Regions from separate parts of the Homo sapiens genome. Here regions 1 and 2 are each linked to region 3. The links are contacts of gene promoters, found by promoter capture Hi-C in blood cells and fetal thymus (Javierre and others, 2016). All regions are on one chromosome and are shown on one strand. Each heading gives the region's core, a stretch centred on a gene start or on the middle of the fragment in contact. The rest is flanking DNA. Distances are from core to core; before and after follow the strand shown.

Evidence for each region. The method cuts DNA at HindIII sites, captures the fragments that hold promoters and counts their contacts. A CHiCAGO score of 5 or more calls a contact.
Region 1: a fragment that was not itself captured here is called in contact with the fragment with the promoter of GRIN2C in region 3 in 2 of 17 cell types (naive B cells and naive CD4 T cells); the score reaches 5.4 in naive B cells.
Region 2: a contact is called between a fragment that was not itself captured here and the fragment with the promoter of GRIN2C in region 3, in 1 of 17 cell types (neutrophils). The highest score is 7.0, in neutrophils.

Annotation. Positions count from the first base shown.
Region 1 is chr17:74,560,693-74,563,470 of GRCh38, forward strand. It overlaps CD300H (CD300H molecule (gene/pseudogene)), which reads right to left. Exons shown (of 4, transcript NM_001405511.1): 3 at 2,142-2,205; 4 at 1-132. The coding sequence ends at 9. Among named protein-coding and RNA genes, the nearest start is that of CD300H, 5.4 kb to the right of the region's middle. The HindIII fragment of the contact is 9,141 bases long and covers 1-2,778 here.
Region 2 is chr17:74,435,117-74,437,816 of GRCh38, forward strand. The region is part of intron 1 of GPRC5C (G protein-coupled receptor class C group 5 member C); the gene reads left to right. Among named protein-coding and RNA genes, the nearest start is that of GPRC5C, 4.4 kb to the left of the region's middle. The HindIII fragment of the contact is 1,617 bases long and covers 594-2,210 here.
Region 3 is chr17:74,858,500-74,861,199 of GRCh38, forward strand. It overlaps GRIN2C (glutamate ionotropic receptor NMDA type subunit 2C), which reads right to left and starts at 1,386. Exons shown (of 13, transcript NM_000835.6): 1 at 1,245-1,386. RefSeq lists an enhancer at 2,213-2,700. The HindIII fragment of the contact is 5,318 bases long and covers 1-2,700 here.

The DNA.
Region 1 (2,778 bases), core at 231-2,730, 300 kb before region 3:
TCTCCTGTTCATGACTCTGTCCAAGGAGTCCTCCAAGGCCTGTTCACCCAGAGGATAGCACCGAGTATGCTCAGGAGCAGAGGCACCTTCAGGAGTGGGAGAAGCAGGAAGCAGGTGCTGCTGGGCAGGGACCTGTGAGACGGAGAGAGTGACTAGTAGTAAGCTGCCTTCTCCGGGGAGTCCCAGGCTCTGCCTCTCCCCCGCCTTCCCTCGAGGTCTCGTCCTGTGCCCTCAAACCCAATGTCAGCATCAAGCCTGGTGGGTACCAGGGTCAGGCAGCCCCATGCTGAGGGTCACAGGCTCCTGACCTTCATTCAGCTCAGAATTAACCTTGAGTGTCAAGACCCAACAGATGCCGGAGGTGAGGGATAGAGAAGAAGAGAGATATGTTAACCCAGGCAGGAACTGGCTCCCAGAAACAACTTCCTGAACAGATCCCTCAGCCACTGATGCCCGCAGGAACTCAGCTCTTGCTGGGAACAACCTCAAGGATGAAATACTCCTTTACAACCATCTTCACTCAAATTAAATATGATCACAAGAACAGCTCTTTTGCTTAAACGGCTTAACAATCTCAACCCCAAGGAGTGAACTCTCCAAGCTCAGCCCATGGCCAGTCGTCTCGCTCCGTGGGTCCCACTACACTGCTCCCATTCCAACTCCTCAGATGCTGCATTCTCTCCCCAAAATGGGCCGCTGTGCCATCTCTCCACCTTCCCAGCCCTCTACCTGCAGGGCTTGTCTGATGCCCTCCCTGATCCTCTCTAAGACGAGTCCCTGTAACAAACCCTGTTGGCGCCCTGCCCCATATCACCTTTGCCCACTTGAGCTCCTGGCAGCTGCAGGCAGTCTTGGCCCCACCAAGGATTTCCCAGCTCAAGCTCCCCATCTCTGCCTGAGGTTATCTACAAGAGTGCACACATTTTCCTGTGCAGAGCAGGCCAGATGGGCCACAGAATTCATGCCCCCAGGAGTGCCTGCTGCCTGGAAGACTCTGTCTCCAGTTCTGAGGAACGTTCTACACAGTCTCTCATAGGGTGCCCAGAGGGGTTAATCTCCAGTGACTCCAGTTACTACGGGGATAACCCCTTCATTACAGCACATTTCACCGCCCTTCCCCTTTCCTGGTCTCACTTTCTGCTCTCTCAATGTACTTCTTGAGATTACCTCTCAATAAACAAATTGCTCCTAAGTCCTTGTCTCAGGACCTGATTTGGGGGAAACCCAAACTAAGACAGTCCCTTTGTTCTTTGTTTCTGTGGAACATCTTGTATTTCCTTGATAGCCCAAATCATGCCCCACCAGCTTCCCACACACTCTGGCACCCTATCTCTTTACACCTGCTTTATTTTCCTCCACAGTAATTATCATTCGTTGACATATTTCCTTGATCTATCGTCTCTCTGTCTCTATTACATATCTCTCTCTGCCAGCTATCATCTCCATCTGTCTTTCCAGTCAGCCAGCCAGCCATCTCTATCATCTTTCATATCATATCTATCATCTGTCTGTTTATCTATCTATCCACCTATCTATCTATCTATCTATCTATCTATCTATCCATCTATCTGTCTGTCCACCTGTCTGTCTGTCTATCTATCTATCCATCTGGCCATTGCCTGAATCTACCTATTTGCAACTTCCTCAAGAGCACAATCTTGCCCCTTTGTTCACTGTTGCATCTCTAGAATCTCCATCAGTTTCTGGCGCATAACAAATAAACACCTGTTGGCCGAGCACGGTGGCTCACACCTGTAATCCCAGCACTTTGGGAGGCCGAGGCGGGCAGATCACGAGGTCAGGAGATCGAGACCATCCTGGCTAACATGGTGAAACCCCCGTCTCTACTAAAAATACAAAAAAAAAAATTAGCCGGGCCTAGTGGCGGGCGCCTGTAGTCCCAGCTACTCAGGAGGCTGAGGCAGGAGAATGGCGTGAACCCGGGAGGCGGAGTTTGCAGTGAGCCGAGATCGTGCCACTGCAGTCCAGCCTCGGCGATAGAGCTAGACTCTGTCTCAAAAAATAAATAAATAAATAAATGTTGAGTGGGTGAATAATCAAGGAAACCTGTGTCTAGGAAGCCCCACCCTAGGAAAGAAGCTGCACACATGGCAAAAGACACTGGGACACGTGCATTTTACCCTTGGCATTGGCTGGGCCTGGTGGGAGATGCAGGTGTCTTCACAGAGTTCTCAGTACTGGAGGCTGAGGATAAAGAACAGAGGTTCAGTGCCCTACGCCTGACTCTTCCCAGCTGAGTACCTGGTACCTGCATGGTTCTGACTTCATAAAGCAGAGGACGCTCAAGGAGGCAGCTGGACAGATGTTCTAGGACCATCGTCTTCCAATAGGCAGACCAAAGCCTGACTGGAGTAACAGAGCATCCCCCCAACCCCATCCCAATGGATGCCCTGCTCTGGGGCCGGGTGGGCATTTTATAAACCCAGACCAGAGGATGACCACCTTCTCCCATGTTGGTGTCCCCCATCTCGCTGAAAATCAACATGCCGAAGGTTAGGCTTAGGTTCCAAAACCCCCATCCTTGCCAGTGTATCCACACACCACCACTACCCTCCAGCACACACTCTCTGTCTCACACACACTCTCACACCTGCACACACACTCTCACATGTGCACTCACGCAACTTCACAAATACACTCACACGCCCACTCACTCACACACGCCTGCTCTCACACACACTCTCACATGCACACTCACACACCTGCTCTCACACACACACCTGCTCTCACACACACTCACACACACCTGCTCTCACA
Region 2 (2,700 bases), core at 152-2,651, 420 kb before region 3:
GCTGAGGCAGGAGAATGGCATGAACCTGGGAGGCGGAGCTTGCAGTGAGCCGAGATCACGCCACTGCGCTCCAGCCTGGGCGACAGAGCGAGACTCCGTCTCAAAAAAAGAAAAAAAAAAGGCATTGGCTGAATGTGCACTCCCGGCATCAGAGGGCTGGAGCTGTGCTCTTCTGAGCTTCTCTTTAACTCTCTGAGGGTCCCTGTCCTAGGCAGTGGATGAGAGCCACGCCCAGAAAGCCCAGGTTTCCCACCTGAGTCCATGTATTTCTGTCTTCCCACCTGCCCTTCCATTTCTGGGGGAACCAGAGAAATAAGATATTTCAGGATGGGACCAGGTTGTTTCCTCTGAGGCTGTTAAGTTACTCAGCAACTTACTAAAAGCAGCAGCCTGGCTGCTGGGCAGCAGCATGGTACCTGGATGCGGTGAGGGGCAGGTACAGGCTCCTCTCTCATTCCTTGAAAGTTTCTATATTGAGGGGGTTGGCAGGAGAAGCAAGACTTGAAGGGTCAGGTGCAGAAGGAAGTTGCTGGTCACCAACCACAAAATCAGGGGGAAACTGGAGGTGGGGGCTTAGGGACAGAGAGCTGTGAAGCTTTCCTGACCCTAGCCCAAGTGCCTGTGGGCTTCTTGGAGCCAGCAGGGTACAGGCAAGTATTTCTAGGGCAAGATGGATCAAGAAGAATGAGTGACATTGGTCCCTGGCTTGGTTTTCTGTAATGACATGCCTGTTAGATTTGAACTTGTAGTATGGGCTTTAGTATCCTTTTCCCCCACCTCCGCCATCCAACCAGTCCTTCGATTGTTTTTTGGAAAGGATCTTTCAGAGCTGGCCATTATGGCTTTACCTTTGGCCTTGACCTTTAAACTGGAATGAATGTGCCCCCCAACAAATCGATTGCCTGTGCATTTTTGCCAGACTCTTTTCCTAAAAGCGCAACCCTGGCTATGCCCCCATGATGCTAAAAGCAGCCTTCAGTGGCTGCCTGTTGCCTTTAGGATAATGCCCCCAGCCCCACCCCTGTAGCATTTCCAATGTGTCAGCCAGCAGCTGCAGCCTCCCTTTGCAGACTCAGCTGATACTTGGCAAACTGAATTCTTTTTTAACTTGCTCTGGACTTGGGCTCAAAGGGCTTTGATTCACACCATCTTTTCTGCCTTGCACGTCCCTCTCCTTGTTCCCTTCACCTGCTCAGTCCTTCCTCACATTCTTCAGGGCTTAGCTTTTGGGTGTCCCTGTCTCTTGGCAGTGTCTGGGACCTGGTATGTTTTTTTATTAGATTCTGAGTAAAACTCTGCGGAACAGTCTTTCTCTACTCTGCCTGTTTCTCTTCTGTGTTCCTGTAGCCCCTGTCTCTCTCCTGCAGGTAAATTCCGTTGTGTGGCCCTTAATCATATTCTTCCTTGTGTAATTTTTGTGAGTACCTACCTTATCTCTCTTGATAGATTTTAAATGCCATCAAGTCAGGGACTACGTTTGTTCATGTTTGTATTTTCCACAGCTCTGGGAACAACAGGGCCTTTCCTTCCCAGGCGCACAGTCAATATTTGCTGATTTGGAGTAATTGCCTGTTCTAAACTGGGCCCTGGCCGAGGGAGGTGGGGTGAAAAGCCCTTGAAAGTGCAGGTGTCCGGAGTCTAAGTGGCAGTTCTGAGGGTTCTCTTCCCTACGTCCAGCTTCAAGCCCAAGTTCTGGCTGGTTTGGCTGTGGAGCCCAAGATGAAGTTGAACATTTAGGATCCCACAGCTTGTTGTTATCCATAAATTATCTCCCAGGAGTGGGTCCATATTACGCCTTCCCTTTTTTGTTGTTGTTGTTGTTGTCGTTGTTGTTTTTGGTTTTTGAGATGGAGTCTCGCTCCGTCACCCAGGCTGGAGTGCAGTGGCGCAATCTCGGCTCACTGCAATCTTCTGCCTCCCAGGTTCAAGGGATTCTTCTGCCTCAGCCTCCTGAGTAGCTGGGATTACAGGCGCACGCCACCACACCTGGCTAATTTTTGTATTTTTAGTAGAGACGTGGTTTCAGCATGTTGGTCAGGCTGGTCTGGAACTCCTGACCTCGTGATCTGCCCGCCAAAAGTGCTGGGATTACAGCATGAGCCACCGCACCCAGCCTACTCCTTACCTCTTAGCCCTCTCTTACTCCTCTTTCCAGCACTTGTAAATAAAATGCAGTTGGTGCTTTATTGATTTACAAAGTCCCCTACAGAAGCTTATTTAAGTCCTGCATTAGAAGTAAAGAGAAACTAGCCATTAGAACGCCAGTTATTTAGGAAAACAACAGTACATTTACATGAGATAGTTAATTTTAAGAGTTAATCTTAAGCAAGCTTAATTGAAAGATGAGGTAGCTGAGATGGCTAAGACGACCTAAATATTTTCAAGTGGCATGGAGACTATTTGAAGGGACTTTGAAAATGGATCCTCTTTATTGTGTCCATTTCACTTAATTTTATGAGTTGCATTGCCCCTGATTTAGTAAGTGTTCTTTCACATAACAATTATGGACAGAATTTTTTTTTTTTTTTGCTTCTGTGTTGAAAAGAGGGACAATTTCTATCAACTGTGGGATTTAGGGCTTTTGTTTGCCTATTAGAAATTAAGTAGCCAGGAATGGTAGAAAACAGTAAGGAGGTAAACCATGTATAAACAACCTCACAATCCCCCTAAAAAAGGAAAAAGGGTGGCAGCCTCACAGAA
Region 3 (2,700 bases), core at 136-2,635:
TTCCGAATTCTGTCTCATCACCCCGTCTAACCCAGCCACCCTACAGAGGTAGGAGGGACAAACTCCACTTTCCCCCGCCACAATCTCCTCCCTTGCCTCCCCCTCCCCACCTCCCACCTACCCACCCCCGCCAGCCCCACTGCACTGCTGAAGCCTTCCTCCAGCCACTGCTCCCTCCTCACACAGGACAGCTACACCCTGGTGCCCACAAATGAAGTCCAGACAGCTTAGTCCCATAGACAGAGCCCTCTGCACCCTGACCGCAACCAACCGTCCTCCCATCCCTGGAACCCACAGCTCTGCCAGTCTGCTGGCCAAACAGCCCCATTCTGCCCTCATCTCCAGGCCTCGTTCCAGCATCCCCCAGGCTGGAATGTCCTCATCCCAACAGAAGTCTACTCTCCTTCAGGGCCCAGCTGAAATCCCTCTCCCACAGGCACCTGCCTTGATGCCTCAGGCTCTAGGCGCAGGGACTGCGGCCAGGCTGGGGCACCTGCCCTTCTTCCCCCTGCCCTGGCTTCCCCTCCTGGGTGGGGAGCTCTGTGTAGTGGTCCCCTCCACCCCTCCATTCTGCCCTGCGGCAGGTGTGTGTGCACTCATTAACACCCTGCCCCACACTGGACTGCGGGCTCCTTGAGGGCAGACACATTGTCTCAGAGACCTCTGCCCACCCACCCACTCAGGGTCTCACCCCTTCCACAAACAGCCCTTAAACTAATGTTTGACAAACACAGAGATCCCCAAAGAGCCCCAGAGAGGATGGCAGTGGTCAGTCCTGCAGGACACAGCAGCATCTAGAAGGGTCTGAGCACCTTCCCAGGCTGGGGGCCTTCTCCTTCCCGGGTCCTCACAGCTCAGCCAGACCCCCTGGCACGGACCTGCACACACATGCACACTCCCGCACTCATACCCGCTCACATCTGAGATACCGATGGCTCTCCCTCTCCCAGGCTAGGAAACTCTGTCGCAGGAGTCCTCCCCACCCACCAGCAGAACCCCCGGACCCCCTGCCCTTCCGGTGAGCCGCCCCTCCTTTGCCGTCGGGTTTCCCTCCCTCCCTTTTGCCCAGCCAAAACCCGAACCCAGGCGCCAGGGGAGAGGACCGCCGTTCTAGCTTGCCCCACTGCTGGGGGCACGGAGTTCTTGCTCCTCCAAGGCTACGGCCCCCGTCTCCGCGGACCCCGCCCGGACTCCCCCTGGCCACCGGGACGCCCCGCCCCCTCCCCTCCGCAGCAATCTCTTACACTCGGGCTGTGAAGTTCGGGGTATTTTTAGGCCGGCGATAAATAATTCATAGGGAACGTGGCATCAGGCTCCCCCCGCGGGAGGAGGGGGCGCGAGCAGCGAGAGCCACCGTCACCCGCGGCTCAAGGACACTCGCGATGCGGCGGCGGCGGCGGCGGCGGCGGCTCCGGGCGGGGACCCGCGCCACGCCTCCTGGCGGCCAAGCTGAGCACCACGCACCCGGCGCCCCCCGCCCCACGCTGCCCCCCGCCGGCGTCCGCGGCTCCGGGGCCCCCACCCCCACTCCCCCAAGCTGGGTCGTGACCCCGAGTCCCGCAGTGGGGGGACCAAGCCAGCCTGGCAGGCGGCCCCAGTACCATCCCAGGCCCGCCCGGGGGCCCTGGGCGAACCCAGGTGTCCCGGACCTGCCTACCTGCCCCTGGCACGCTCTTATTCTTCGGGAGTTTAGAAACAGGCTCAAAGTCACTAGCACCGCCAAGACCTGGACGGGCTCTGAAATACAGCCAGCGGAATGGTACCCTCCCCAAATAAGTGTCTTTCCTCGATTTTCCTGTGGCCCGGGGTCAGGGACTGAACTAAGATAACGCCACCATCCGAGGGCTGGGGGACCGAGCCAGAAGTCCCCTTGGACGACCAGGGCTGGGAAACCGAGTGGACGAATGGGGTGGGCATCAGGGCCTGGCGGGAATTCCCGTCTTGCTCACCCAGCAGCTCCTTGCAGGGTCGCGGGACGCACCTGGGGGTTCAGGTTGCCGGGTGCCTTTGCTCCGCGTGTCCCCGCCCTGCCCGCGTAGGCAGGAAACAGGAGACTCGGGGCTTCCCCTCCCCGCCGTCGGGGATCCTGGGCGAAGCCCCCAGAGACCGGCGCAGGCGGCTGGTGCGCAGCCAGGGCCCAGCGCCAGGTCTTGCTCGCCCAGTGCCCTCTCTGCCTACCCTTCCCTTTGCGCTCTGGAAGCCCGGGAGCCGGGCACGGGCCAGCATCTGCAAGATGCCACTACTCTGGAAGCCCACTCCGATTCTCCCAGGTCGCAGGAAGGAGAGAGCTAGGCTGGGGCAAAGGAGATGGGGCAGAGCTGGAAGGGGAAGAAGCGGGACTCGCGGCGGGGGAAGGGGTCTGGGCGCCGAGGCGAGTGCGCAGCAGGTGCCCAGCAGACCTAGGGAAACTGGGGCACTGGGCTGGGGAGCCGCACAGCCCCCTTTCACCTTCTCGACTCCTTTCCAACCCCTCGCTCTGGTGGATCCCAGCCCCGGCCCCCACTCCCGGCCCTGTTCCCCGCTCTCCGCCCCGGCGGCTTCCAGCAGCAACAGTTTGGGTCCGCGGCAGCCCAGACTCCCCTGGTCCCGCGGTGCTGCCGCGCCAAGCGAAGGAGGAGGAGGGCTCGGCGACCCTGGGGACGAACGTCTTGGACGCTTCGCCCGCGTCCTTCTCTCGCGTCCGCCGCGCGCCTGTCTGCT